Regions from separate parts of the Homo sapiens genome. Here regions 1, 3, 4 and 5 are each linked to region 2. Evidence: promoter capture Hi-C in 16 types of primary human blood cells and fetal thymus (Javierre and others, 2016). All regions are on one chromosome and are shown on one strand. Each heading gives the region's core, a stretch centred on a gene start or on the middle of the fragment in contact. The rest is flanking DNA. Distances are from core to core; before and after follow the strand shown.

Region 1 (2,879 bases), core at 170-2,669, 530 kb before region 2:
TTCATGGCAGAGTGCAAATTGCTGAATGAAAATTAGCCTATGGCCCATTTATCAAAACTAATGTACAAATGACTTTATATCATCATTGTAAAGAAATGGCTAGAGTCATTGGCATAAAATTTGTTGTACAGGGTCTTATACTTTTTATTTGTTTCCAAATCAATGTGCTAATTTCCAATCTTCTATTACCCTCCCCCACCCCATTTCCCTTTTTTTCTGGTTCTTTAGTGGATGTGAAGTCAGAAGTTCCTGTGGGCCTGGAGCCCATCTCACCTTTAGACCTAAGGACAGACCTCAGGATGATGATGCCCGTGGTGGACCCTGTTGTCCGTGAGAAGCAATTGCAGCAGGAATTACTTCTTATCCAGCAGCAGCAACAAATCCAGAAGCAGCTTCTGATAGCAGAGTTTCAGAAACAGCATGAGAACTTGACACGGCAGCACCAGGCTCAGCTTCAGGAGCATATCAAGGTAGCAAATGCTTCTTTGTCTGTGACCTTACTCAGGAGTCTGCACCGTGGTGGGCATGAACAGTGCCCATGGGAACACTTTGCGGGTAGATTCACTGTGATTAAGACATGGATATATGGCTTGAAGGGAATTGTGATTTTACTAGTGAAAACTTTGGGTAAGTACCTGTTAAAAACCTGTTTTGCTTCTCAGAGGGACCTTCTTTATCCTTTAGCACATAGAATCAATAGCAGGGAATAGTAACTTCCTATCCTAATTTTAGATTCTCTCCTACGTGATTTTGTTCATTTGCCCCATCTGCTCTCCACCAAGAAGAAGCATGAGCCTAGAAGACCCATTTCATATTTCATTTCTGAAGAGTCTACATGTACTATTTGTGAGAAAGGATAAATTAGTCACCTTATATGAAGAGAGCTGTTTTTAAAAAACAAACATGGTGTATAAGTAGATGTTCTGAGTATGTCCGACTCTTCCTTATAGAAAAGATCTCATAATGTACACATTCAAAATAATAGTATAATAAAAAGCTTAAGGGAGTTATAAATGGAGAAACTGGTGCAAATGTTTTTATAGACTGTAGATAAGAATTTATTGAAAGTATTTGGGAGTAGTTGACAATTTGAGACTAAAGTTGTTTAAATTATTTTAGCACAAATATATCCATATTCCAGAATTTTTAATAATAACTTATTTTATTATCTAATAATATTAGATGTGTCTGTTTTTTTAAATTTTGTATCTTCAGAGATAAATATTACTTTAGCTTTATTTGTAAAACATCTTGCAACTTCTTGACAAAGACAGTTGAAACAAGGCTATTTAATTTGAATTTATTGTGACAGAAAAGCAGCAAAGATTTACAACAAAAATTTTATTTTTATATCTAACTTTCAAAGATGACAAACACTTGCTAATTTGTGAATGTAATAAATTATGTTATCTCATACTTTATTGTTTTGTATTATAGGAACTTTATTACTTGCATATCAAGTACAAGCACATTGATAGAGGGTTGATACAGATAACTGATGTTACTAGTATGTAATTTTACCACATTAATATGACAGTTTCTAAGGAAGTAAAAATGCTATCTTCTTCTCTATATTACTTGGTTTACAAGATGTTTCTTAATCCTAAAAGAACTTTATTATCGTATATTCCTAAAAAGGCTCTTTGACAAGTGATATAAAATATATTTATTTCTTTTAGTAGTGAACTTTCCAAAAAGAACTCTTGTATATTATTGATGTACAAAATACCTTAAAGTGAGAGTATTTTCTTTTGTCCCAAATGGAATCAGTAGCTCATGGCTACATTTTGAAGTATGGGTAGCCTTTCTTTAGTTTTTAGACTTATTTTTGAATGAATACTGAAGCTTTATTTAAATTTGACCTTTGAAACAATAATAGAAACATTGATATCTAGATCTGTTTCTTTCCTTCCAGCATGTTAAGATGGCAAAGAGAAATGAGTAAAATGTACATTTTTCACCATACTTTAAGATGTAAGGGACTGTGTAGTTCATTTTGCTGCTTTAAGTGAGACATGTTTCCCTAAATACAGGGCAATACTGATAAGTTACTGCTTTAGATACTTCTTTTCATTTATATTGCTGCCTTTGATAGCTATAAAGTTAATATAAATTGTTTAGAAAGAAATTTATTGCTTAATTTTACTCAAAAGGTAATAGTAGCAAGTAGATAATTAATTGTTCATTTGGCACAAGCAAAACAATAGTGTTGGTTTATTGACATCTGGAAAATATTGGAAAAGTGGCTCCTGTGAGAAAAAAGAATTATGAGATAGCTAAAAGGAAAATTTAGCTTTTAAAATGATTTTCCAAAATAATAATTTGTTTTCTTAGAAACCAAAGACATAATTAATATTACTTTTTCAGATTAGGAAGTTTTTTGATTTTTAGAATTTTTATTTTGTTTTGTCTTGTATTTTTTATGGATAAAGCTAAAAGTTGATGCTTTTCATTAAGATTTTATTTTTATGAGAAAGATGCATTACATGATGCTTTATTTATATTAGCTTTTTGAATCGTTAGCTTCTGTAATAATCAACATTTGTTGAGTTAGATGCTGTTATTCCATTTTTCCACCTAGTGAACTGAGGTAGAGAAAAATAATGATACCTTTCCAAGGCTACATAGCCAATAAATTGTTGCTCCAAGATTTACAGTCTTGCCCTGTCTGCCTCCAAAGCTCTTAAGTTGCCCTGCCTCTCTCATGGGCCAGAACATCTAGCAATAGAGGGCTAAAGTTTTATTTCTTTCTATTGTTTTAAACCTCATTCATGCAATCTTTGATAATGAATAGTAGTGGTAATTAAATTGTGTGCTTTTCTAGATTCCTATGAAAGATTAAAGTTCAAATACATTGGGGCTTTGGGTGAAGCACCAAA
Region 2 (2,724 bases), core at 43-2,542:
AAAATTGAAAGCCGAAAGAAAGGGTGGCGCTGACAAAACGGTCCTTACCCGTGACCCTGGGTGTCTCTGTCTCCCCTCCTGTCACGCACACTCACGCGCACACACACCCCTCACCAGGGCGCATCCCCCTGGAGACTGCTCTCCCTAGCGGGGTCAGACCGGCCTTCCGGGGACGCTGGGGGCGCGAGGCAACGGTGCCAAGTGAGGTGGGAAGGCTGAGCGGAGAGTGGGAGAGGGGAGGAAATCGAGGTGGACTGGGAACCGCGGCCTGGCCGGCCTGCCGTCTGCCACCTGAGAGGCGAAGGGGTGCAGCGGCGCGGTCCTTACCTAGGTCTCCGGCCCTGCTGAGGGGGTGGGGGGCTCCGCCTGCTAGTGGGACGCGGACATGGACCAGGCCCCCTCCATCCTCCAGACCGAGAAGGCGTAGCTGAGCCGCTCGTGAGCCACATAGCTGCAGCTTGCCATCTTGGAGTCCAGCTCGTCGCTCTGGAGGACCTGGTAGAGGAAGTCGATGTACCTGGCCGCCAGCTTGAGGGTCTGAATCTTGCTCAGCTTGTCCGAGGGCAGCGTGGGGATGATCTTCCGCAGCGCGGCGAACGCCTCGTTCAGCGACTGGGTGCGCTGGCGCTCCCGCACGTTGGCCATGACCCGCTGCGTCTGCAGCTCCTCGTAAGACTGCGGACTCCCGCCGCCGCTGCTGCTGCCGCCGCCGCCGCCCGCGCCGCCGCCGCCGCCACAGCCCGCAGACTTCTTGCCGCGCTTGCCCTGGGCCGGGCTGCCCGGCTCGTCGCCGCCTCCGACGCCCCCACCCGCGGCTCCGCCGGGCCCCGCGCCGCCGCCCGCGCTGCGCCTGCTGCTGCGCCGCTTGCGTCCCCCGCGCTTGCCGCTCGGCGGCTGCTGCCGGTCTGGCTCTTCCTCGCTGTTGCTCAGGCTGTCGTCGGCCGGCGAGACTGGCGAGCTGGACACGTCCTGCATCATCTCTCGAGCGGCGACGCGTGGCCTCGCGGGCCCGGGGCAGAGGAGAAGAGCGGGGCGCCTCAGCCCGCCAGCTTCCCCCGCGCGCGGCGCCGGCCCGGGCGATGCGGCCCGCGGAGGAGAGAGCAGGAGGACGGACGGGAGGGACCTCCGCGGGGAGGGCGCGCGGGGGAGGCGGGGAGGGAGGCGGGAGGGGGAGGGGACGGTGTGGATGGCCCCGAGGTCCAAAAAGAAAGCGCCCAACGGCTGGACGCACACCCCGCCAGGCCTCCTGGAAACGGTGCCGGTGCTGCAGAGCCCGCGAGGTGTCTGGGAGTTGGGCGAGAGCTGCAGACTTGGAGGCTCTTATACCTCCGTGCAGGCGGAAAGTTTGGGGGCAGCAGTGTCATTGGCCTGACGTGAGGAGGAGGGACTTTTCGAAGTTTTATAGGAAAGTTTCCGCTTTCCAGTCCCCCTCCCCCGTCCCACCTCCCTTCCTCGGGGTCTAACAATTCGTCCTCCCAAACCATTCAAAAACGACCTGGCCCGGGCGGCCGGCCCCTCCACCCGCCTCCTAGCCGCCCTCCCCCTTCCCTCCCCGTCGCCTTCCTCCGGCGGGCGCGGGGCGATTTCCTTCCCCGCCGGAGCGTGCGGGCAGCGCCCCCGAACCCTAGCGCAGCCCAGGAAGCGGTCGGAGGAGACTGTCCTGGCCGCGGTGGCAGCCCCATCCGGAGTGGCTGTGACAGCAGCAATGGCAACAGCTTCTACACAGTGGGTGATGTCTCATCTCGCCCAAGAGCCCTCTAGGTCCGTGGGGCCGATTTGGGATTGCTGGGGCTGGGGGGGTGGTGTGGCGCGGGGTGGGGGGGCATGCCAAGAAAAGTGTCAACCGCGGAGCCCACCCAATGGTCAGGTAGACGAACCCCTTGGAGTTCCAAAGGCCAAACCGCGGCGGCCCAGCCCGGAGGTCCTGGGCGTTTCTGAAGACGTGGCCGCGCCGCGGGGGCTGAGGATTTGCGTCCCGGCCTGCTCTCTCGCCCTTCTGGGCCCTCCTTTCCCCTCTACAACGACCCAGTCTGACGCTCCCCAACATCCAAAGGACTACGCCTCGGAAGGTGCTCGAAAGAGGCAGAAGTTCACTCTTCGGTGGAAGGAAACCCAGTCCATGGGAAAGGCAGCAGAGCCAGAGGGGGGCAGCGCAGCGCCTTTGCTGCGGCCCTAACAGCTGGCAATGCCAACCCAAGGGAGAGACCCTGTGGCCATTTCATCCCCACCCCCAAATTAGGCTCCGCATTGTGACCTTGAAAGGCCAGCTTGTAAGAGAGTGAAGTGGGAATTTGATAGCGCCTAGACATAGGGGCTGCCCGCTCTGAGACCCCCCCCGCCCCAGCCCCCACTATCTAGGGCATCCAGTGGACAATTAGGCTTCGTGAGCCCCAATTCCAAATGCTTGGATACGCTAACATTTTAAGCATTTCTGTCTGTAAGTTAAAACGAAGAGCCCCAAAGAGGGTGTTAATGTAGATCCTGGCAAACTGGAAGCAGCAAAGTTGGTGAACCAGAAAGGAAGTCGCCTTGGATAAGAAGCCCATCTTTTGCAATGCCATACTTGTTTCCTTTTTGAAATGAATTGAGGTAAAATAACCGTTTCAGGTCCATCCCTTACATGGCAAAGTAAAAAGCTGGAGTCAGTACACAGTGTTGGGGTGGGGGCAGCGTTTGGGGGCGACGAGTTTTGTGCACCGCGCTGGAGTACCCTGCACATAAGGT
Region 3 (2,780 bases), core at 264-2,763, 770 kb before region 2:
AAATAGTATTTTTAGTAAATATACTCTCAGAATCTTCTCCTTCCCATCTGAAAATAAGATGTTTTTGCTTTTTGATAAGGTAATGGTCAATGGGATCGAAAGACACTTTTTTCTTCCACAATTACAATAGACACTGGTATGGTTTATTGATGATTCTCATCAGTTATATTTCACCAAAATCTCATAGCAACAGGAGAAAATTTCCCATTGTTTGGTTGGGAGCCAGAAGCTGAGAGTGCAGGTCATTTTTCTTCATCTGAGGAAAGTGGAATAGCCAATCCACCACTTTGTTTTCTAGGTCTAAAATGATCTGTTCAGTCTTTCCTAATTCATGGGTGTGGCATTCATAGGAGAGGCTGGCGGCACAAAGGAAATAAGACATCTATGCATCAATTTCTTTATATTGTACCATGGGATGGGGGTTTTAAAAGTTGTTCATATTTGTTTTCTGCACCATACTGAATGAATATTTCACAGTAACTCTTTTTAGAACACAATACTTGGTGAAAAATAAAATTCACCGTATTAATGTAACATTTTCCAATCCTAGTTACCAGCACTGCAAAGTACACACCACTCAACAATTGCTAGAATATGTAGCTATGTGTATTTTTAAAGCATATTATAAATTTTCCCACTCTTAGCAGAAAGTGAAGGAAAATGAGCACTTCATTAGCAACACTCTTAGTTGTGCAGCCAAGAAATAAAACATGAAGTAAGGTTTCTAGATACTATGGGAACCCCATTATGACTCCCTGGGGAGGCTTAGGGGAGGATGTTTTTCATAATGAGTCCATGCAGAAAGTTTTAATACTAGAACATCCTTACTTAGACATTTGCTTAGATTTCTACCACTAATGGGAAAACAAAACTAACAAAAACAACAACTCCCATGTAAATTGTGTTTATTCCTATTCAGTTAAACAAAGGGATCTTAGACCAAGTTGATAAACTGCAACATGTTCTTATTTATTTTATTTTATCTTACGTTATTTTATTTTATTTTTTAGACAGAGTCTCAGTCTGTTGCCCAAGCTGGAATGCAATCTCGGCTCACTGTAACCTCTGCCTCCCAGATTTAAGTGATTCTCCTGCTTCAGGCTCCCGAGTAGCTGGACTACAAGGTGTATGCCACCACGCCCGGCTAATTTTTTGTATTTTTAGTAGAGATGGGGTTCTCAAACTCCTGACCTCAGATGATCCACCCACCTCGGCCTCCCCAAGTGCTGGGATAACAGGCACGAGCCACTGCACCTGGCCGGCAGTATGTTTTTAATCTGTATCTCAGTGCCCTCTGTTTTTACAAAGTAGATGATAAGTATTGAGTTTTGAAATAGATAAAGGGTTGACAGTCATAGATTCTTGCTTTTAATTTTAAGAGAGAAGTAGGTAGCAAATTTTGGAGTTGAAAGACGGATCATGCAGTAACTAGCAACTGTTTCTCAAAATTCCCTCATCATTAGGATCTCTTGAATTGCTGGTTTAAAATATCAGTTTCTAGGCTGCTCCACAAAATATTTTGGGTCCTGCAGTTGGACATGAAAAGCACAAGCACCCCAGGTAATTCTTATGATCAGGAGAATTTGGGAAACATTTATCTGATTTAATTAATTATAGAGGCAATGTCAGCGATTAAGAGGTAAGATATGGAGTATAGATTCGTATGTTCATTTAGGAAATGCTTAGCTATCAACACTTATTGAGCATTTATACTATGGACCAGATTTGAGCACACTTACTACATGTGTGATTTTTGAACTTGTCTTTTACCCTTTCTGAATCTCAGTTTCTCATTTAAAAAATGAGGATAATACCTTACTCATGGATTTTTGGGAAGGTTCAATTAGATATGCCCCAAGAAATGCTTAATTTTTCTGAAAAATACCACTGTTTTTAGGCATCTATTATACTGTAGGGGTCATAATTTAATTATTTCTATTAGGTATTTTTACTATACACCAAGATTTCATTATGCAATCACACATCTGTTGTTCTGAGCTGTGGTTCTTACTGGCATCTTTTGGAGATGTATTTAGAGGTAAAGAATCCTTTAACAACTTTTAGGATCCAAAATCTCCTAACACAAACTTTCTCCTTCTGCCTTCTCTTTAGCCCTTTTAAAATTGGTGTATTTCCTACTTAAACTCACATATTTCAACTTCTTGCAACACTATTAAAATTACAGCTACTATTTGTTAAGCACTTACTGTAATCCAGGCACAGTCCTGGATGCTGCTTGTATTATTTAATCTTCACAGTAGTAGTGCAGTTTAGGTATTATGACTATTTAAATGGAGTCTGAGAACACAGAACTCAGTAATTGAGACAGCATCTTATAGGTATGATGCTGTGAAGAACAGAAATTATTTTAATACCTGTATATCTGTCTTCAAGCCCAAGTTCTGTCCACTATAAGCTATTCCCATAACTTTAATACAGTCATTTTCCCAATATGAGAACATGAATTTCTCCCATTGGCTTCCTAATGGTTTTCTGTCACTCAGAGTAAAATTCAGCTTCTTTACTTACTAAGGCCTACAAAGCACTGCACCGTATGTCTTTCATGTTCTAAGGCTTTTGCATTTGTTGGTCCCTGTGCTTGAAACTGTCTTGCCTTAGGTAAGCTGTGCACCTCTCCCTGACCTCATTAGAGATGTCTTTCCAGATGACCTCCCATACTTGAGAACATCTACACACACACACACACACACACACACACACACACACACACACACACACACACACAGATATTGCCCTTCCTCCTTGCTGGCTTATTTTTT
Region 4 (2,700 bases), core at 31-2,530, 550 kb after region 2:
TATAGCACATAACCAGCGCAAATAACAAGAAGCGACTGTGCTTTCTCCCAGTCTAGAGCTTGTCTTATCAGTCTCTGAAAAATGTCTTTCAGAAAGCAAATTTAAAAATTTACAAGAAAGTTTTAAATTCTCATAAAATCCAGCTTAGGTTTTATTTTCTCTGTGGATCAAGCTTTTAGTGCCATACATAAAAACACTGCTTAAATCAATGTCAGGAAAATGTTCACTTATGTTTTATTCAAAAAATTTATAGTTTGAAATTTTTTGTTTAGATGTATCTATTTTGAGTTAATATTTTATATAGGGTGTGAGATTTAGATTGAGGTGTTCTGACTGATTTATATAAAATTGTTCCAATACCATGTGTTCAAAGGACAGTCCTTACTTTATTGAAATGTCTTTGCAACTTAAATCAACTAGTAGACTTCCAGTTTCAACCCTGACATATATAGAGCTTGAAAGTTGTCACTCCTACCCTTACATCGTGAAAAAGAAGGATAAACTGAAAATCAAGACTTTCCTTGGACCCATCAGACAACTGAGGTTGTAGGACAAACCTCCACCCTGAAATCTGGAGAGACAGACACATCCAGAGAGACACAGCCAAGATCCGCTTACCTTGGAGTCATAATCTGATAGAAATATTTTATGGTCATTTTAATGAATTGCTGGAGATGGAGTGTGGACTGGTGTGATATGAGAAACTACTGGAGGTCATAGTCATAGGGCAGCCTCCAGGAATCACAGCATGTTTATATGATGAAGATCCAAGAAAGATTCCTTGTGGCTCTAGCAGAGAAAGGAAGTATTAATCATTCTGAAGTATTCTGAGAACCTTCTCCATAATAAAGGCCTAATCTCTGGGAGAAAAGACTGGGCTGTAGTTTACCCCAAGGTATTATTCCCACTTCAGCCCTCCTTCCAGGCTTCCTGTCTCACCAAAGAGAGGGGAGAAGACATAGTCAATAGGCGTCAGGGCTTCAAGAAAATTGTTTGGAAATGCTGCAGTTAGTCTCAGAAATGAAAGAAGGGTCACCACTACAGATTTCACTGACATTAAAATTATAACAAAGTTATACTATGAACACTCTATGTCCATACATTTGATAGCTTAAATGAAATGAATAAATGTCTTGAAAAACATACCCAAAGAGAAAGCAATAACCTCAGTAGCCCTAAGTATATTAAGGAAATTTAACCAATAATTAATAACCTTCCAAAATAAAACACCAGGCCCAGTTGGTTTCACTGGTGAATTTTAACAAACATTTAGTCAGAAATAATACTAATTCTCCACAATGTCTTCCATAAAAAATAAGCATAAAGAATACTCTTATTCTATGAGGCCAGTGTTACCCTAATTTCAAAGCCAGATAGAGACCTAACATAATAGAAAAACTACAGACCAGTATCTCTAATGAACATATACTCAAAAATCTTCAACTAAATATTAGCAAGTTGAATCTAATAATATAAAAAGATACACCTGGATGAAGTGGGATTTATTCAATATGGACAAGCCTTGTTCAACATTAAAAACCATTCAACATAATCTGACTTGTCAAAGGATATAAAAGAAAAAGGATATAATCATACACTGATGCAGGAAAAACGTTTGAAAAAAATCCAATTCATGATAAAATTTTTAAGCAAACTAAGAATAGAGAAAATTTTCTAAAATTTTTTTGCTAGAAAAAATAAGAGTTATGCAAAAAAAAAATCTACATACCACCATTCTGAAACAAGCCTCTTTTTGAAACAATTAATACTTAATGTTGAAAGACTGAATGCTTTTTCCCTAAGTTTGGGAAAATGTAAGGATGTCCTTTCACAGCAGTCATAGTCAGCGTCATAAGGGAAGCTCTATTTAGAGCACTAAAATAAGAAAGAAAAGGTATGCATATTGAAAAAAGCTGTTTTTATTTGGAAATGACATGATTGCCTATGCAGAAATTTCAAATAATCTACGCAATAATTTCTGCAACCAATAGGTTAATACAGCAAGGTCACAGATTATAAAGTGAATATATAAAAGCCACTTTCTTATCTATACACCATCAGTGAACATTGGAACTTAAAATTAAACAATACATTTACAATAGTGCCAGAAATGAAATACTTGTAGATATAATTCTAACTAAGTATGAATACCATCTGAATGCAGAAACTGCAAAACATTGAATGAAGAAATCATAGATATAAGTAAATTGAGAGATATTCTATATTAATGAATTTGAAGGTGTAATATTACTGAGATGTTAAATCTTCCTTTAATGGAATTCTAATAAAATTCCCATCAAGTTAAGATTTTTTTAAAAGCCTCTCAATGAACAAATTGGGCAAAAGATCTAAATAGACACCTCTCCAAAGAGATAGACGGATGGCAAATAAGCTTATGAAAAGATACTCAATATACATTAGGGATATACAAATTAAAACAACCATGAGATATGACTGCACACATTAAAATGTCTAAAATAAAATAAAATAAAAACCCTGACAATACTAATTACTGATAAGGTTGCAGAGCAACAGAAAGTCCATTGCTGATGTGAATGTAAAATGGTACAACAAATTTGGAAGACAGCTTGACAGTTTCTTACAAAGTAAAATGTAGCCTTATTATGCAATTTAGCAGTTTTCTTCTAGGTATTTAGTCAATTGATTTGAAATGTTGTTAGGAGCTTTATTCATAATTGC
Region 5 (2,700 bases), core at 40-2,539, 530 kb after region 2:
ATACCAATATGCACGTTATAGAATTCACAGAAGACAAGACAGAGAAAGGAAAAGATAAAAAGCATTTGAGAAGAGTAAAGATGGCTGACTAGAAGCAGCTAGTGTGCACTGTTCTCACTGAGAGAGAAACAATTGTGAGTAAATACAACCTCTTCTGCTGGAATGTCCAAGTGGACTCAATGGGATTAATCAAGGAAACAATTCGACCCATGGAGAACAGAGAGGAGCGAGACAGGACAACTGCCCACCCAGGAGTGGCACAAAGCCAGGGTAGGTCCCTCTATAGTAGGGAAATTGTAAGTGAGTGAGAGTCCCCAGGGACCCACACTTCTGCCACGGAGCTTTGCAACCCTGGGCTCAGGAGATTCCCGCATGAGTCCCCACTCCAAGTCCTCCAGACTGACATGGAGAGCTACATGGAGTCTGGGCAAGGCCACCACTCAGGCACACATGGAGTCCCAGGTGCCTTGGATCCCCAGGCATCCCAGCATTAGTGGCTCCAGCTCCAGCTATGGGGGAGGTCAGGCTCCCTTGCATACCCTGAAAAAAGGAGCCAAATCCTGGGGGCTGAGCCATGACAGACTGCAGAGTTTGCCTCTACTGGCCCTCTTGGGATAAAGCCCTCTGGACTGGGACCATAGTGTGCCCTCCTCTGCCCCACCTGGGCTCTCAAGCTGGTAGCAGCTCTGAACTTCCTTGAGACAGAGCTCCCAGAGGGAAAGGCAGGCTGCTATTTTTGCTCTCTCACACCCCTCACCACTGTTGCCCTGAGGCTCTGGAGTGAGCATGGTAATTAGGGATTGGAGTGGATCCCTAGCACAGTGAAGCCACCCCAAAGAAAAGTGACCAGACTGTTTTCAATGCAGGTCCTCATTTCTGCTTTTCCTCACTGGACAGAGCCTCCCAACCTAGGACTCCAGCCAACCCTCGGCTGGGCTCTCAGGCCAGTAGCAGCTCTGTACTTCCCTGGGACAGAGTTCCCAGAGATGCAGGTGGCCATTCTTGCTGTCCTACAACCCTCACCATTGTTGCCCTCAGGCCCTGGGTGGAGCACGGTGATTAGGAATTGGCACAGATCCCTCAGCACAGCAAAGCTGCCCCACAGAAAACTGGCCAGACTGTTTTCCACATGGGTCCCCGTTCCCACTTCTCTTCACTGGTCAAAGCTTCCTGACCTAGGACTCTAGCACAACTACCCTGCCCTTACCCAAACACTTTAGTCAGAGATGGCTCTGCATTTCTCTGAGGAGGTAATCACACAGACAACCCATAGCCCCTCTGCCATTGCAGCGGCCGTAGTACTGCCCTAACCACCATTGGGCTGGAGAAGGAACAAAAGGCCTGGTTGCTATGCTGGAACCTCCACCACTCGGCAGCTGCCATACAGAGAGGAGTCCAGCCTCTCTTCCTTGTAAGCTTCCATACTCCACTCTTCAGAATGCAGAGGCCCCAACTTGGGACCACAAAACAGTTGTCCCATCCCTGGCTGAGCTTACCCACTGGTATTGGCTGTGTGATTCCCTGGGAAGGGGCCCCCAGAGGCAACCAACAGCCTCTCTGCCACTAACACAGCAATGGTTCTGTTCCTGCTGAACCACTTGCAAGTGCAAGGGTTTCACTTGTACTTCCAGCATGCCACAGTCACTGTATGGAGAGGAGCTCTGTCTCTTCTCTCTGAGAGCCGTCAACCCTGGCTCTTCACCAAGAAGAGCCCCTGACTCAGGCAGCAGTGCAGCCTCTCTACCCTCTCACTGAACATTTCTGGTAGCAGTTGCTCTACATTTCTCTGAGCTAGACCCAGGGACAACTGAAAGCCCCTCTGCCAGTACCACTGCAGTGGCACTGCTATTTTTACCCTTGGACTGGGGAAAGGGCAAAGATCCTTAGTGCTTTAAGCACACCTCCAGCAAGCTGCAGTGACCGTAAGGAGATGAGGCCAGTCTGTCTTCATGACCCCTCTGTACCCCATGTTCATCACCAGGCAGAGTCCCCTCAGATTGGGCCCACAGAGAAGGCGCCCCCACCTTGGGCCAGTCAGAGTTATTTATAGTGGCTCTGCATTTCTCTGGGGTGGAACCCCAAGAGACAAGTAAAAGACCCTCTGCCACATCCACTACCAACATCCCTTCCCCTCCTGCCTCCAAGCTGCAGAGGGAACATAAAGTATAAGCTCACCCCAGAGCTGCAGTGTGCAGCTCAAGAGCGCTAAGCCAAGATATGCAGACAGCACTCAAATGAGAGAGGAGCCCACAGTTTGAGAGCGTTGAGAGGGAGCATGGCTGCAATCATGAGGTAATACAGAGAACCCAGGTGGCTGAGCAAGAACCTACCTACTAACCATTATGCCCAAACACTGTCTACAGGATTGCAGCCCAAACTTTGACACCAAAAATGCTTTGCTAATGTACACCCCTGTGAAAACAAGGACAAAAATTCAGCTACAGATAAGGACCCTGCACAAAGCCTTGACTGTCTGAAAACATCCAGAAAAAAGATCTACTGACTGTACTCAAATTACCTGGAAATTAAAGGAAAATCAGCTTACAAAATTAGAAAGAACCAGTGCAAAAACTCTGGCAATGCAAAAAGCCAGAGTGTCTTCTTTCCTTCAAATGACCATACTAGTTCTCTAGCAAGTGTTGTTAACCAGGCTGAAATGGTTGAAATGACAGAAACAGAATTCAGAATACAGATAGGCAT

Evidence for each region. The method cuts DNA at HindIII sites, captures the fragments that hold promoters and counts their contacts. A CHiCAGO score of 5 or more calls a contact.
Region 1: a fragment that was not itself captured here is called in contact with the fragment with the promoter of TWIST1 in region 2 in 1 of 17 cell types (M2 macrophages); the score reaches 5.2 in M2 macrophages.
Region 3: a contact is called between a fragment that was not itself captured here and the fragment with the promoter of TWIST1 in region 2, in 1 of 17 cell types (megakaryocytes). The highest score is 5.7, in megakaryocytes.
Region 4: a fragment that was not itself captured here is called in contact with the fragment with the promoter of TWIST1 in region 2 in 6 of 17 cell types (megakaryocytes, M2 macrophages, M0 macrophages and 3 more); the score reaches 20.8 in megakaryocytes.
Region 5: a contact is called between a fragment that was not itself captured here and the fragment with the promoter of TWIST1 in region 2, in 1 of 17 cell types (megakaryocytes). The highest score is 7.0, in megakaryocytes.

What each region holds. Positions count from the first base shown.
Region 1 is chr7:18,585,053-18,587,931 of GRCh38, forward strand. HDAC9 (histone deacetylase 9) reads left to right here. Exons shown (of 26, transcript NM_178425.4): 3 at 229-470. Among named protein-coding and RNA genes, the nearest start is that of HDAC9, 91 kb to the left of the region's middle. The HindIII fragment of the contact is 848 bases long and covers 996-1,843 here.
Region 2 is chr7:19,116,344-19,119,067 of GRCh38, forward strand. It overlaps TWIST1 (twist family bHLH transcription factor 1), which reads right to left and starts at 1,293. Exons shown (of 2, transcript NM_000474.4): 1 at 328-1,293. The coding sequence starts at 978. The coding sequence ends at 370. RefSeq lists enhancers at 300-559, 583-1,366, 2,440-2,724. The HindIII fragment of the contact is 6,123 bases long and covers 1-2,724 here.
Region 3 is chr7:18,346,617-18,349,396 of GRCh38, forward strand. It overlaps a transcript of HDAC9 not described here. Among named protein-coding and RNA genes, the nearest start is that of HDAC9, 150 kb to the right of the region's middle. The HindIII fragment of the contact is 5,296 bases long and covers 1-2,780 here.
Region 4 is chr7:19,670,251-19,672,950 of GRCh38, forward strand. No RefSeq gene overlaps it. Among named protein-coding and RNA genes, the nearest start is that of MIR3146, 34 kb to the right of the region's middle. The HindIII fragment of the contact is 2,220 bases long and covers 171-2,390 here.
Region 5 is chr7:19,649,924-19,652,623 of GRCh38, forward strand. All of the region lies in intron 4 of LOC105375180 (a long non-coding RNA gene), which reads left to right. Among named protein-coding and RNA genes, the nearest start is that of MIR3146, 54 kb to the right of the region's middle. The HindIII fragment of the contact is 250 bases long and covers 1,165-1,414 here.